Linked DNA regions of Homo sapiens: region 2 is linked to region 1. Evidence: promoter capture Hi-C in 16 types of primary human blood cells and fetal thymus (Javierre and others, 2016). All regions are on one chromosome and are shown on one strand. The core of a region is centred on a gene start or on the middle of the fragment in contact, and the rest is flanking DNA. Distances in the headings are between cores, read along the strand shown.

The links. Contacts are between HindIII fragments. The CHiCAGO score rates a contact against its expected background, and 5 or more counts as called.
Region 2: a fragment that was not itself captured here is called in contact with the fragment with the promoter of MRPS9 in region 1 in 1 of 17 cell types (total B cells); the score reaches 5.3 in total B cells.

The regions. Positions count from the first base shown.
Region 1 is chr2:105,035,024-105,042,566 of GRCh38, reverse strand. It overlaps MRPS9 (mitochondrial ribosomal protein S9), which reads right to left and starts at 4,498. Exons shown (of 11, transcript NM_182640.3): 1 at 4,340-4,498. The coding sequence starts at 4,474. It overlaps MRPS9-AS2 (MRPS9 antisense RNA 2), which reads left to right and starts at 4,071. Exons shown (of 3, transcript NR_110603.1): 1 at 4,071-4,113. RefSeq lists enhancers at 3,516-4,458, 4,212-4,541, 4,712-4,761, 4,812-4,861, 4,882-5,091. The HindIII fragment of the contact is 6,591 bases long and covers 2,409-7,543 here.
Region 2 is chr2:104,968,835-104,976,377 of GRCh38, reverse strand. The region is part of intron 1 of MRPS9-AS2 (MRPS9 antisense RNA 2); the gene reads left to right. Among named protein-coding and RNA genes, the nearest start is that of DALIR, 65 kb to the right of the region's middle. RefSeq lists enhancers at 6,300-6,949, 5,784-6,983. The HindIII fragment of the contact is 3,918 bases long and covers 1,347-5,264 here.

The sequences.
Region 1 (7,543 bases), core at 3,249-5,748:
CCATAGAAGAAAGACCTAAATACATGAGAGAGACACTTAGATAACAAGAAAATAAGTATATGTGGGTCTTCCACTGTTGTAGGCAGCTTCCAAGATGGCTCCCAGTGAATCTGCCACCTGCTGTTCTTCTCTCTTGCTTACCTTTTCTTCATCAGCCTGAGGGAAGCCAGATGTGCTGAGTTGCCCTAGAGGCCCATGTGGCAGGAGCTGAGGGAGGGCTCTGGCCAACAGCCAGCAAGGACCTGGGGCCTTCAGCCCGACAGCCTGCAAGAATCTAAATCCTGCTAACTACAACACTGAGTGAGCCTAGAAGCAGACTCTCCCCACCCACAGTGGAGCCTTGAGATGACTGCAGCCCCGGCCAATACCTGGACTCTTGCCTTACCAGAGACCCTGAGCAAGAGGACCCAACAAAGTGTGCCTGGAGAACCCTGACCCACAGAAACTGTAGATAACAAATGTCTGTTGTTTAAGCTGCTAGGTTTTAGGATAATTTGTTATGTAGCAATAAATAACTGATACGTTCATCATCCTAATTACAATGAAGCATTGTACAAGAAAGTTTAGTTATCTTGTTTTACAAGGAAAAGAGAGGTGAGAATGATAGTAGCATTTATTATCAAGCTCTTATTATATAAGAAACATATAAATTGCCAAATAAAGACTGTAAATTTTAATGTAGAGGTATTTTTCCTAATTACAGCAATGAGGAACACACTCAATTCTATCCTTACAAGGACAGGATTAGATCTCAAAGGGAACAGTTTATCCTACCAAAGGGCTTTTCTGTTGCTAATAAACTGGGATTAAAAATAAATATATTCAAAAATTATCGGGGTAGGGCATAACTAATTTACAGAGCTGTACAGAGCATCTGATACAAATTCAAGTCAATTATACAATTTGTTTTTCAAAGCGTTTTTTAGCCATTTGTCAAAAAAAATGTATTAAGATCCTACTAAAGCAGATCAATAGAATGCTGTGATAAATACAGGATATTATAACCTCCAGAAGCATGAGAGATTAAAAAAAAAAAAACAGATACTTTAGACAGAGACAGGAATGTGTTTACAGTGGAAACCAAAATATAAAGGGCCAAGCCATTTAATGTCATTGATCACTTCTCTGGCAGATGGTCTAAATCAACAAAGGCATCTTGGCTTGGCAAAAACTGAATATTTAAGCACTAGGAAAGTGTTCAGTAGTAGAGAATAATTAAGAAAACACCCTATTAGTGTTTTGTAGAAATATTTTTCAAAATAGCAATTGGTCTTTTGTTTTTCCTTATTATAAAAATCACAAATATTATAGAAAACCAAATTAGCATTCCTATATTAGCTATATTGATAGAGGATTTATGAATTCATGGGTAACCTTTGTAGTACAGCATGGAAGGAAACTGTCAACTGCTCATAATAATGCTAACACTATTTTCATTTGTGAGAGGTAAAAAATTCAGCTACCTTAGCATAGCAAAACAGATCATACTGATTCCTGCCAAACTTTCCAGACCTGTCTCTGCACCATTCTCTCACCAAAACCCTATGCTATAACCAATTGTTGCTGACAAAGCCCACTATTACTCAGTACATCTCTATACCCTTATGCACCTATTATATCTTCCTTGAATAGAATAGCTTTCTGTTTTCATATAACTCCTATTTGCTGCTAAAGACGCTATTTTCCTTTGCCTCCTCTGGGAAGCTGCCCATGACAATCCTCTACCTGGTCAACAACTCTAGTCTGACTCAGGCATATTACTTCTGTGCTCTTCTGTATTTACCTCTGTAAATATCACAGTACACCATAGATCCCTGATATTCATGGATATACAATCTGAAAAGTTTGGCCATTCATAAGACTGCCTCTTCTGCCCCAAATTTGGGACACTCAGACATTTGCAATTGTATTGAGGCATTAATACAAAACATGCATACCACAAGATTGCTATGCAAGAGGTAGTCTGCTAGTGAAGGTCTCAACTGAGAACCTAGGAATAGCTTAACAAAACTCGCTTCTTTTTCCTTATTGTAACAGTGTTTCTCAAACTTGTTAAACTGTGACCCATTGTAATATTTACTGTTTATATCACCACCTAGTATACATTTACATATATAAACAAAATGCAAAAATACTCTGCATGAAATGCACTTTATTATTATTCTATTCTCCCACACCCTTCAAGTTTTCTGTAACCTCTGAAGAGATTTTGTAATTAAGGAAATTAAAAGTGGAACAAACAAAAGACCAGGTATAGTGTTTTGTCACTCATTAAGTGATTAAAATTTTTATTATTTTATAAAACATGGGCTACCAAGAGAAATCTATCTATTAATGTTGGAGGCAGAAGTGAAAAAATGTTAATGTTTAAGACAGATAAGCTCTGCACCACGATAAAAAAAAAAGCTTTATCAATGTCTTTAGGTATATGTATGCAATCATAAGAATCTAAAGGGGGGTCAGCTAAGTGTTTCAGTTATATCTGAGCTGTACTTAATGTGGTAAAATATATGCTGTAGTAGTATTCAGGAATCTGGGGATTCAGCCATTTCAGGACCATCCCTTAAGAGTGCTAAGGGTGGATACTATCTTGTAATTGTTTGACTTTAAATTGTTTACTTCACAGTGCCTGGCTCAGGTAAAGTGCTCAGTAAACATTTGCCATATGGGGGAAAGAGGTTGTTTCAAGAATGGTCAAGGAGATGAAAATTAAAGTAACAGGAGAAATCATTCTTCATCCATTTTACTAAACCAGTACTTAAGAACTAGACCAGATGTTTACTGAAACTTTATTAGTGCAAAGAAAGTAGAAACAAAGCAAATGTCCATCAATTGTTACATTAACTTTGATATATTCTTATCATGGAATAGTATGCAGCAGTTAAAAATGCTTTTAAAAACATAATAGGGGACCCTGAAGGATTTCTACTTTACAATATACTGCATATGTACAAGAGAAAAGCAGAAAGTAAAATGCAATCAAATATGGTACCATTTTTTGTAAAGTACACCTGTGCATGTATGTTTATGCATGATTATAAGAACATGGAAAAAACATAGAAGAATAGATACCAGGAGGGACAGAAAGTTAGCCATCCCCCAATACATACATTAAATGTCAACAATAAAAATACTCTGTATGATATAGTCCCTCTCATAATCATGCGTATGTAGCAAAGATATACTCAAAGAGATGCATGAAAAAATAAAAATTTCTAGCACATTTTCCAGTAAGAAAAAAAAAAAAAACAAATGTCCACATGAATAGATAGAATGGACTGGTTGATCTAGATTAAAATATAAAGGAAAGAACATACAAAAAGATGTTTTTTTTTTTAAATATAGTTTTTAAAGTATGGTATTTGACTTTCCTGCAATAATTGGTACTTGTTATCACTCTCCCTCCTTGAAACATTCACCTGTTTTCCATGACACCACACTGGCTGGTTTCTCTCCTGCTTCTTTGGTCCCTCATTCTCAATCTCTTGAGGCCTCTTATTTCTTATTTGTCCTTCAGGGCCCTGTCCCTCTGCCTACTCCTCAGTACACTCTCCCTAGGTAATTTAATTTGTTTACAAGGCCTCAGTTACCATTTACAAGGTAACAGGGCATTTCGAAATCAGTTCTCCTCCTGAGCTATACACTTGACTATCCGTAGACCTACTGGAAATCCCAGATGCCTAAAAACATAATCCCATACTAAACTCGTTTCTTCCCTCTCAAATCTTTTTCCTGCTCTGAGATCGCATGTCAGTAAACTGGCATCATCAGCCATCCAGCTGTTGACTCCCCACTTCTCCCTGGATTAAACGAAACGTACAAGTTCTGGCCTGCATCTTTCCATAGAGGGGGATTCGGGAAAATTAAGAAGCCAGAAATTGCGCATATTGAAGGCACTTTCAAAAAGTCACTGTCCTCTACACAACGTGACTTTCTCCATTGTCTTCCAGGCACCTGCAGGAATCCAATTCCCATCATTCTTCTCTGGCGCGGCCCTCCTCCTCCCTAGACAGCAGGGCAGGGTAGGACTGGACCCAACACAGACCTAGGCACCGACCCTTACTTAGCTCAGCAGCCAAATGAAGGAGGAGGTCGCTCCACTTCTACCTTCAGGTAAGTTCCCCTCGCTGCACCCCGCAAAAAAACAAGTAACAACCTCTAGAGCGGCTACTGCACGCCAATACCCACCTCCTCCCCCCCAACCTCAGACCTCCACTAAATACCTAAGATCCTAGAGTCCCTGCCTGAAGGCACGCGAGACGCTGGGGGAAGGTGTCCGCGCTGGCTCCACATCCTCGCGCGGCAGAGGTAAGCCGCTTCCAGTCTTCCCAGGCCTTACCTGGGATCTGACATTTGTTTGCAACTCAGGGGCCGCGGTTTTCCAGAGGCCTTGCTTCCGGGCGAGGCTACCCCTACCCCAGAGAAGAAGCCGGTACGAAACTGCTCCGCCGTAGGACACACAGGGCGCCGCCATGTTAGCTGTGGGAGCTCCAGGACCGGAGGGGTGAGGGGGCGGGGCCTAGAGACGGCGCAGGCGCTAATGGCGCGGGGTTCCAGAGGCTGTCCTGTGCAAGAGCTTCTCGGGCCTTTGGATCAGGGGGCGTGTCCCGCGATCCGCGACAGCTCGTCGCTGATTGGGTGCATGGTGTCCGCGGGGCGTATCCGACTCCACCCCTGCTCGGTGTCGACCTCAAGAAGGATCGCTGGTGGGTCGTTTTTCTCGGCCTCTTTCTCTTCACGTCCTGAACTCAGTCTCTTCGGGACTCACTTCCACGCTCTCCTAGTCTCTTTGGCACTCACATCCACGTGGCGCTTTAGCCAGCCCTTCCTTCCCAGCCCCCTTGCTGCACCTCGAGCCGGCTCTTCCTCCACCTGGGCAGGGCGGCCGGGGCCCCAGATGCGCTCCAAGCCTTGATTCCTGTCTGCCTTATCCTAGTAGGGGTTTTCCCCTCCTCTAACTTTCCACGTTCGTCTGGTTCCAAGTCAAGACTCTCCTGCAGCAACTGTCAAGCCCCTCTCGGTTCCCTGGCACTCTCCTGCGTTGTTTCTTAACTGTATAATGCACAGGATAAACCTTAAACCGGTAAGGTCAAACACTACCTTTCTCGTTTTTGCACGCCCCTCCCTAAGCGTTGGTACTAAGCCTTACTTGAAACCCAATCAGAACTGATTAATTGTTGAATAGAGATGAGTATGTCTTGCTTTCTGAAACTTGCGTGCTCCTGGCAGTTAACTCCCAGGTTGCTTTCTACGAAACACATACTAAATGATGTAGTAACGCACTTTAAAAGGGTTTACACACACTTAGATTTGAAGGGTCAGTAAAAGTAAAACACACAGAAAATCTGAGATCATACAAAGTTGTCAAGCAAATAAATGCCGTCTACTATCACCATCATTTCACGAAACAGAACTTTTTAGCATTAAAAAGGTAGAATGGCAGAATTTCACAATAAAGAAAAATCTTTTAAATGGAATACATTTACTTGTATAAAATGCTCATCCTGTTGTTCTTTTTGTTATTAGCTTTTAGACTAGCAAAAGATATCTTGAGAAATTGGCAGAGGTCGGAGGACTAAACTCTGATTTTTTTATCTTGCCCAAGATTCCTATCTACAGGATTTGGGGAGTCATGCCCTACAAATCATAAATTCTTATTAGATGGGTTTTACTTAACCCTATATATGGTGACTTACTTTCCAACCTGACTCTGGCATAACATTACAAGACAAGGAAGAAAATCAAAATATTTTACCCCAAAACATGTTTCTTTGCCATATCTTGAAATGGCCCTGCAAAGCTGTCCTTGGAGGGGTGGGATATGCATCTGTAAAGAATCTGTATTAACATAGCTAGATCTTTTTCTTCCAGACCCTCCCAATCCTAAAGAGATTAACTAAGATCTGAATAGGAAACATTTGTCATCCATTGTCTCTAAGGGCAGCCACTGTAAGACTTACAGAGAACTTTGGTCTCCACAATCTTTATCTTAAACTGAACATTCCCTTTCTATCAGTCCCAGGTCTTTCTGGACCAAACCAATGTATTTCTTAAATGTGTTTGATTGATGTCTCATGCCTCCCTAAAATGTATAAAATCAAGTTGCGCCCTGACCACCTTGGGCACAAATTCTCAGGACCTGCTGAGGACTGTGTCATGGGCCATGATCACTCATATTTGTCTCAGAATAAATCTCTTCAAAATATTTTACAGAGTTCGACTCTTTTTGTCAACGGATGGATAAACTAGCATTTGGGAATCAAGACTTTATTTATTTATTTATTTTATTTATTTTGAGATGGAAGTTCGCTCTTGTCGTCCAGGCTGCAGTGCAGTGATGTGATCTCGGCTCACTGCACCTTCTGCCTCCCGGGTTCAAGCGATTCTCCTGCCTCAGCCTCCCGAGTAGCTGGGATTATAGGTGCCCACCACCATGCCCAGCTAATTTTTGTGTTTTTAGTAGAGACAGGGTTTCGCCGTGTTGGCCAGGCTGGTCTTGAACTCCTGACCTCAGGTGATCTGCCCGCCTTGGTCTCCCAAAGTGCTAGGATTACAGACGTGAGCCACCGCTTGCAGCAGAGAACCAAGACTTTATAGCTCATTAAAATAGATGTCTTTAAACAGCAGTTCCTACACATTGTGAGATTATTTAAAAATTTTTTAAAATCTTAATTGTGGAAATTTAACCAAGTAGAAAACAGTGAGTATGTGGAAGCAGGATTTATACTATTAAAAAATTATTGATATTGGACCATATAAGAACTAAGTACTAAAATTAAGGTTAGGAGTGGTGGAGATTTTTCCCTTTTTTGAAATTCATGTCACAGTCCTTTACTAGCATGCAGTCATGCACTGCATTATGCAGTTTCGGTCAACAGTGACCTTCACATAAGACAGTGGTCCCATAAAATTATAATAGAGCTAAAAAGTTCCTATCTCCTAATGACCTTATAGCCATCAAGACATCATAGTAAGGGAGGATACCACCCCTCATATTGTCTTATGCCCCATTTCTCCCTCCAAAGAAAGAAGTACAAACTAAAAGGCAGAAATGGAATCCACAGGGAGATAGCCCAGCACTGGGCCCTGGGCCTGGTAGTTAAAAATCAACCCCTGACCTAACTGCTTGTGTTATCTGTAGATTTCAAACATTGTATGGAAAAGCATTGTGAAAATCCCTGTCCTGTTATGTTCCATTCTGATTACCAGTGCATGCAGCCCCCACTCAGGTACCCCCTGCTTGCTCAATCGATCATGACCCTCTGATATGGATCCCCTTAGAGTTGTAAGCCCTTAAAAGGGACAGAAATTGCTCGCTTGGGGAGCTTGGTTTTTGGAGACGTGAGTCTGCCAATGCTCCCAGCTGAATAAAGCCCTTTCCTTCTACAACTCGGTGTCTGAGGGGTTGTTGTCTGCGGCTCATCCTGCTACAATAGTACAACGCATTGCTTACCCATTTGTCGCGATGATAGTGTAAACAAATCTATGCACTGCCAGTCCTATTAAAGGACATACAATTATGTATAATACATAATACATGATA
Region 2 (7,543 bases), core at 2,056-4,555, 65 kb after region 1:
ATGCAAAAGCCCATGCAATAGAGACATTTGGAGAAACAAGAGAAATCGAAGCCATAAAAGTAGCATTTGCCAGTTTTTCCAGCTGATGTCCACTGAGAATTCTTTATAGGAGATTAGAAGGATTTCTTTCCCTAAAGAGAGCTGATAAAATAAAAGAATTTTAAGTTCTGAGCTTGCATGCCTGTAGCTCAAAGCTGTCATTAGACTTCTTGTGGCCAGGGTGACAGTATGGTAGTCAGGGAACTACCCTCAGCTGTAAAGTCCTTTTATTCTTCATTTGCAAACACTCTGACAACAAAATGCTGAAAAGGAGCTTATAACAAAACCATGTAGGAGATAGCATGCCTGTGGGGTCAGAAGCCAGCGTTTCTGTTCCTGTAAGGCGGGTGATCTGGGGGAGTTATGTTCCAGCTTCCTCATCTCAAAAAACACAACGATAATTCCTGCCCTGGATAGCTCTTTTGAGAATTAAACAAAATAATATTTGCAATGAAGTGAGCCAGGGCTTGGTATCCAACAGGTGTGTGATGATGTGGGCAGCCTTTCCACTCCCACCAATGTCTGCTCTCTTAAGTCCCAGTTGGGCTAAGTACTCCTAAGTACCCCTAAGTCCCAGTTGGGCTAAGTACTCCAAACTACCCCTAAGTCCCAGTTGGGCTAAGTACTCCTAAGTACCCCTAAGTCCCAGTTGGGCTGACTACTCCTCAAAAGCAAAACCTGCCAGGTTGGTGTGAAAATGAGGTGCAGACTCCTGTCATGGGATAGGAGTCACAATTGTTTCTTGCTTTTAGTTTCTAGTTTAGTGCCACCTCCACCAACCTTCCACTTCCCCTCATTACCACGTCCACACTGTCATGGAACAAATAGAGCCAAGACACATGGTGTACAATTTATGTAGCTGCTTTCACGTTCTACCGACCCTGTTTTGTTTTGTTTTTGTTGTTGTTGTTGTTGTTGTTGTTTTTGAGACAGAGTCTTGCTCTGTCTTCCAGGCTGAGTGCAGTGGCGCGATCTTGGCTCCCTGCAAGCTCCGCCTCCCCAGTTCACGCCATTCTCCTGCCTCAGCCTCCCGAGTAGCTGGGACTACAGGACCACGCCACCACGCGTGGCTAATTTTTTGTATTTTTTTAGTAGAGACGGGGTTTCACCGTGTTAGCCAGGGTGGTCTCAATCTCCTGACCTCGTGATCCGTCCGCCTTGGCCTCCCAGAGTGCTGGGATTACAGGCGTGAGCCGCCGCGCCAGGCCCCGACTCTGTTTTGAATAGTTTGCCATTTCTTTGCTTCCTCTGGGACATTAGGGAGTTATGTTGGAGTGTGGCCGAGAGAATTTAAATCATGTGAAGCTTCTCTCTTGATGTAGCACTTGCTGTTCTATCTATATGGATGGAGACTCACTGCTTTGGGACCACAGAGATGTGGGCTCTGTAACCCCTCTAGGCATTTGAGAGGTCTCCAAGCCTCCCCAGATATCTTTGGTGTCGCCCAGAAAGGAAATGGGTCATTCCCTTCCCAGTCTAGTTCACTTAGTCCCAGAATGATTGAAACAAAACTGAAATCAAATCCATCTCCTACTTAAAAGCCTCAATGACTCCTCATTATCTACAGGATAATAGCTTAGCTGCCACTTAGTCTTCCAAGATGCCCCTTTCATTGAGCCATGTCTTCTGGTAGCCACTCCCTTGAATAGTGCCCTCAGCATTGAATCTGGGCTGGCAGAGAGGCTTTCAAGTCTAGGGCATGGGACTTCGCAGCTTCTGTCCTGTTCTTTGCAACTTCCACTTTGGAGAAGCCAGCTATCGTGAGAAAAGCCCAATTACCCTGATACCTCCATGCTGTGAGGAAGGCAGGGGTAGCCACGTGGAAGGCACAGAGGCTGCATGGAGATGGAGAGAAGCCAGCCGTCCCTCTGTTGCAGTCCAGCCTTCACATGACTCCAGCCCAGCCATCCACTAAGTGCATTTGTAGGAGACACCCCAGTGAGACCAGCAGAAGAACTTCCTGGTGGGACCCAGTCAGACAGTGGTTGAAGCTGGAACAGTGAGGAGCTGGAGCAGGTGGAGACCGGCCACATCCCTGTCTTCACGATGTCTCAGCTTCACCGTGTGTTCACCCCAGGTGGGCTACTTTGGGCTTCCGCCAAGCATGTGGTGGCTTCCAAGAGCAAGTGACCTAAGAAGCAGGAATTGGAAGTTGGCAGTTTCTTGGGCCTTCCCAGGCTTAGAAACCAACATGGCATCACTTCTGTCTTATTCTATCAGTCAATCAGTCACAAGATCCAGGCTCAAGGACAGGGGACTCAGACATGCTCTCTTGATGGGAGAAGTCTCAAAGAATTCAGAGACCACGTTACAAAGTGTTTCAGTCCGATCTCTGGCCAAAAATTACTTATAATTCTCTCATGTGCAAAATACACTCACCCTTTTTCTTCCTTGCACACATTCCTACCATTGCAGGCACCATACTGTTTTAATTAATCATTTACATGTTTGCCTGCGTTTTGAACTTCCTTAGAAACAGATAGGGTGTCAAATTCATCCTTATTTCCCTTGTGCCTGGTATGCTTATTACACAGCATATAATAATACCCAGTGAAGGATGAACCACTAGGCCGGGTGTGGTGGCTCCCCCTGCCTGTAATCCTAGCACTCTGGGAGGCCGAGGCAGGTGGATCACCTGAGGTAAGGAGTTCAAGACCAGCCTGGCTGACATGGCGAAACCCCATCTCTACTTAAAAAAATACAAAAAATTAGCCGGGCATGGTGGCAGGCACCTGTAATCCCAGCTACTTGGGAGGCTGAGGCAGGAGAATTGCTTGAACCTGGGGGTTGGAGGTTGCAGTGAGCTGAGATCATGCCACTTCACTCCAGCCTGGGCTAAAGAGCAAGACTCTGTCTCAAAAAAAAAAAAAAGGATGAACCACCATAAACTATACTGTGCACACATACAGTCAACAGATTGTGATGAACATGAATTGAGAAAGTAGAATATCAACTAATGGTTGGACTGAACATAGTATTGAATGACACATTACCTAAACAGCTATCTCCCTCTTCTCAAGTCTATTCAAATCATTTTGAAAATTAAAAATAATTTTTAAAAATTTGGAAGTAGAAATGGAACCAGCAGAAGGCTACTCATAGTGTTGCTAGGGGAGCAAATAATATTAACATTTGTTATCCTGTCCTATCTGCTCACTCATGTTTTATCTTTATTTTTGCCTTCCTTTTCTACTGAGCTGGGTCAGGTGAGAGCTGGAGTCAGGCTGTGGCCTTCCTCAGTTGGCAGGTAACTCACCAGTTTGTTCATCCTTCTTTTTCTCTTATTGAAAGCACTTTGATCCAACCTGTCAGAAATATAAGCCAGGGCAGTAGGTCAGTACTGCCCTGAGCCATCATGAACTCTTGTCCATGGGAAAGAGGGGATTTGGAGAGCAGAAAAATGGAGACAAGTTTCAATTTAGATTCAAAAAAATCTAGGAGACAGTCCCATGGTCATTAGATCTTTTCTAAATTTGCAGCAAATGGAGGAGTTTTGAGCTCCAAATGTTGTGATGTTTGTCCCACATCTGAATCTTGAAAGGAACCAGTTTGTGCCTCAGTCAGTTTGCGTGGAACCTGGTGCAGGATTGAAGTTACAGGACGGTGCTCCTGGAAGGGGGTAAGGATTCAGTGGTGAGGATCTAGGGCTAGCCAAGAGAGGGAAAACCATCATTTTATTCATTTTCTCACCAACACCTAGTTATGTACAACCTGCCTTGTGCCAGGCACTGATCCAGTCCCTAGGAATATGATGGAGCACTAGGCAGTTAGGGTTCCCACCCTTGGGGAGCTTACATTTCAGTGAGGGGGACACATATGTTTTAAGCTAAAAATCCATGTGATACTTATAAGTTCTAGAAAGGAATCAACAAGGAGGTATCATGGACAGTCAGTGGACAGGGCAGTATTTTAGGCAACGTAGTCAAACCTTTCTGAGGATGAAACATTACAGTTAAAACATGAGGGGTGAGGAGGAGGCAGCCAGATAGACCTCTGGAGGAGGAGATGCAGCACCTGGTTCTAGGTACCTGACAGAGGTGGATGGAGTGAGATCCTGCAGCCCTCTCAAGCCAGCTTGAGGGGTATTTTAAGGACAATAGGAAGTCATTAAAGGGTTTTAAGATGGAGAGTAAAATAGTTATGCTTTAAAACCTTCAGCCTGCATACTGTATGGAGAACAAAACAGAACTGGCGACATCAGTCTTCATACTCATCCAGTAGTCCAGACAAGATAGGAAGATGGCTTAGACATGAGGAGTGCCAATGAAAGTGGGGAAAATGAATGGATTTGAGGCATATTTTGGCAGTATTGCCAACAGGACCCACGGGTAAATTGAGGGAAGAACAAAAGAAGACTCAAATTTCTTCAGAACTGTGTGGCCCCTTATTGAGAGGATCATCTTCAGATGCCTATAGACATCCAAGTGGAAATGCCAGCTCAACAGTTGCATATATGAGCCTGGAACACAGAGGAGCATTCTGGAGGTGCCTGCACAGAGACTTAATGCACAAGATCAGATGTGTTCACTAATGAGAACATGTGATGCAAGGCAGACAGGAACCCAGGACCAAGGCCCAAGGGCCCCAATGTTTGGAGGCTGTTAGGGAAGCAAAGGACTAGGGGTGGGTTGGTGAAGCATATTTTTACACCTTCACTCATGCTATTCCTGTTGTCTTTAGTGTTCTTCTTCCCTTTCTTTGACTGGTAAGATCCCAATCATCTTTCATAACCCAATTCAAATGGCATCACTCCAATGTTGACACACTGTCTCAACCAGGCTCCATGTGAGCCTTTGCTGACCCCACCAGCCCCATCCCCAACCGAGCAGAATCAGTTGCTTCCTCCTCTGTCAGCCCTTTGTTCAAATGCTCCCTGGGTTCCAGGCAGTTACTGACTTGTCCTTTTCCCAAAAATGATTGGAGCTCTTCCAGTCAGGAATCGGTGGCTTTATTTCTTCTTATAACTGGATACAGACCCAGTACTTAGCAAACTATACATATTCGTTGAATGAATGAATCAATGAATGGATAGATGGAAGAATGGTCTATATAGTATAAAGTAACCTGACAGTCAGCTAGTAGATGTGGGCTATCTGAAAAGATTGGATAATTTAGGTTGGGAAGTTTAGGTTAGGAAGGGTGGACAGGAATCCTCAGAGCAGATCTTTGAGAACCAAGCTGCCTATAGAATGATCCATACATAAGATGTTGCTTATAACTAAGCTTGAGGAATATTCACTGATGAATGTTCACCACCAAGTCATTGATCTCCTTGTACAGCAATGAGGTTTCTTGTGGAAGTCACTGAAGAGAAACAAGGGAGTCTTGCCAAATATCAGGGAGTCAGGGTGTGCCGAGCTTCAGCAGAAATACAGATTCTGGAATGTAAAGGTGAAGACGGTTGTGAGAAGACAGAGTCCACTACTGGCCTCTGGTTCTTTTTCACTGAGTTAATTTCCTGAATGCATGTGGTTGCTGGCAGCAAAAAATCCATCTCTCCCAGTAACAGAAGGGTTTTGCCAAAGAGTAGCTCTGACAGGTTGTGTAAAAGTTGTGTAAAAGCAGCAACAAAACACGTCTCTGTTCATTCTCAAGTTGCTGCTGCTTTCTGCACTTCCAGCAGTGCTGGGGCTCCAGTGTTCCGGCTACAGCAGTGCCACTGACACAGGCGTTGGGGGCAGGAGTGGGCCTGCCTGGCAGAGAGATGGCAGTCTCCCGAGCCTGTGCCATGTCTCTAGGCTGCTTTTTCTTTTACTTTTTGAGACAGAGCCTTGTTTTGTCGTCCAGGCTGGATTGTAGTGGTGCGATCTCGGCTCACTGCAACCTCCGCCTCCCAGGTTCAAACGATTCTCCTGCCTCAGCCTCCTGAATAGCTGGGATTGCAGGCACCCGCCACCATGCCCAGCTAATTTTTGTATCTTTGGTAGAGATGGGGTTTCACCATGTTGGCCAGGCTGGTCTCTAACTCCCGACCTCAGGTGATCTGCCCGCCTTGGCCTCCCAAAGTGCTGGGATTACAGGCATGAGCCACCACACCTGGCCTAGGCTGCTTTTTCTTGTTATCACCATGGCAGGGTGTGGAGGCAGAGGGCCCTGGTTTTCTGCTCCACCTTCAACCCCTGCTGCTCACTGACTCCCACAAGGAGGTCATCTTGCCCTTTCTTTTTCATCACAAGCTAGGAAACCGCTACACCAATTCCTCTTAAAAATCTGCCTGCAAGTAAAGAAATACAAAAACAACTTTACTGCCAATGGTGAGTTTAGTCGGTGTATCGGTCGGAATCCTGTCTCATGGCCCATTCAGAGCTGGGTAACTGGACAGAGCTTAATAAAGGAATTCTTTACAAAGGTGAGGACAGAGTTTAGGAAAAACCATCAGGTATGGTGCGGTACCTGTGGCTCTTAACAGCAGGAGCTTGACCACACCTGGACTTGAATGAGAGCAAGGGGAGGGAGTGATGACCAGGTGTGTGTTGAGGAGGTGTGGGCTGGGGAGCACACAGGAAGTACAAGTGTGAGTTGGCTGAATGAGTTGTCTGATGTGGGTTGTAGCCTTCTGTAGAGGCAGTGACTCAGCAGGGAAGTTGCTGACGGATTAAATACCCTTCCTTCACTCTTTACCCTCCTGCTGGCTTCCTTTAATAGCTGAACCAACCAGAAGCCAGAGAACAATGGATGCCATTTATACCAGTCAACCTCCCTGATCACCCAGCAGGTCCGAGGCAGGAGAGGAGAGGACCTTGAGGCCAAAATGAAGGATTCCCCTGCCCAGTCCTAGCTGGATACTTTGACACATTTGCCAGAGTTTTCAAAGGCCAATCCCATGTATGTTCTTTGCATAATGATTTAGGGGTCAAAAATGCTATCTGCTCTTCTCAACACCCAGGACTTTAGGGCTGACGGGAAGGCACCCGTGGTGGGGTATGCCTCCAAAGGAGGTCCTCTGGCAGGTAGACATCCATCCATAGCCGTTACCTGTTCTGACAGAGAAGTAACACTGGCCCTTGCTCTCTTGTTAGTGCTTAATGACCTTGACTTGAGATTTTTCCCTGGACCTTTACTTAAGATTACTCTTACAAGGATCTGACTTCTAGTTGGTTATTTGAGTTCTTGACCCTACCTGCATTCCTTCTGCCATTAAACATTGGTTTGATATCTTGCTCTCCTGGAACCTGACTCCAGCACTCCCATTTCTGCGTGCTAACTGGCTTGATTCCATCTTAAATAGAAAGACAGCACCTTTCTGTCTGCAGACTTTATGCTTTGGGAGTCTTGATTCATCCTAGGATTCACCCATTCCTACACTCGTTACCTTCTCTAAGTCACCCCAGTGCCAGGGTTTTGGAAAGTAAGGCCATTTCCTTAAGTGTCCCAGGATCACCATATTGGTTTAAAGTAAAATCCACACCAATGATAGAGCCACTTCCTCATCCTAGCTGGGTTTCCCCGACCCTGTCTATGTAACCCTGTTAGCCCTGTTTGCCTCTGTCTCCCTGCATCACAC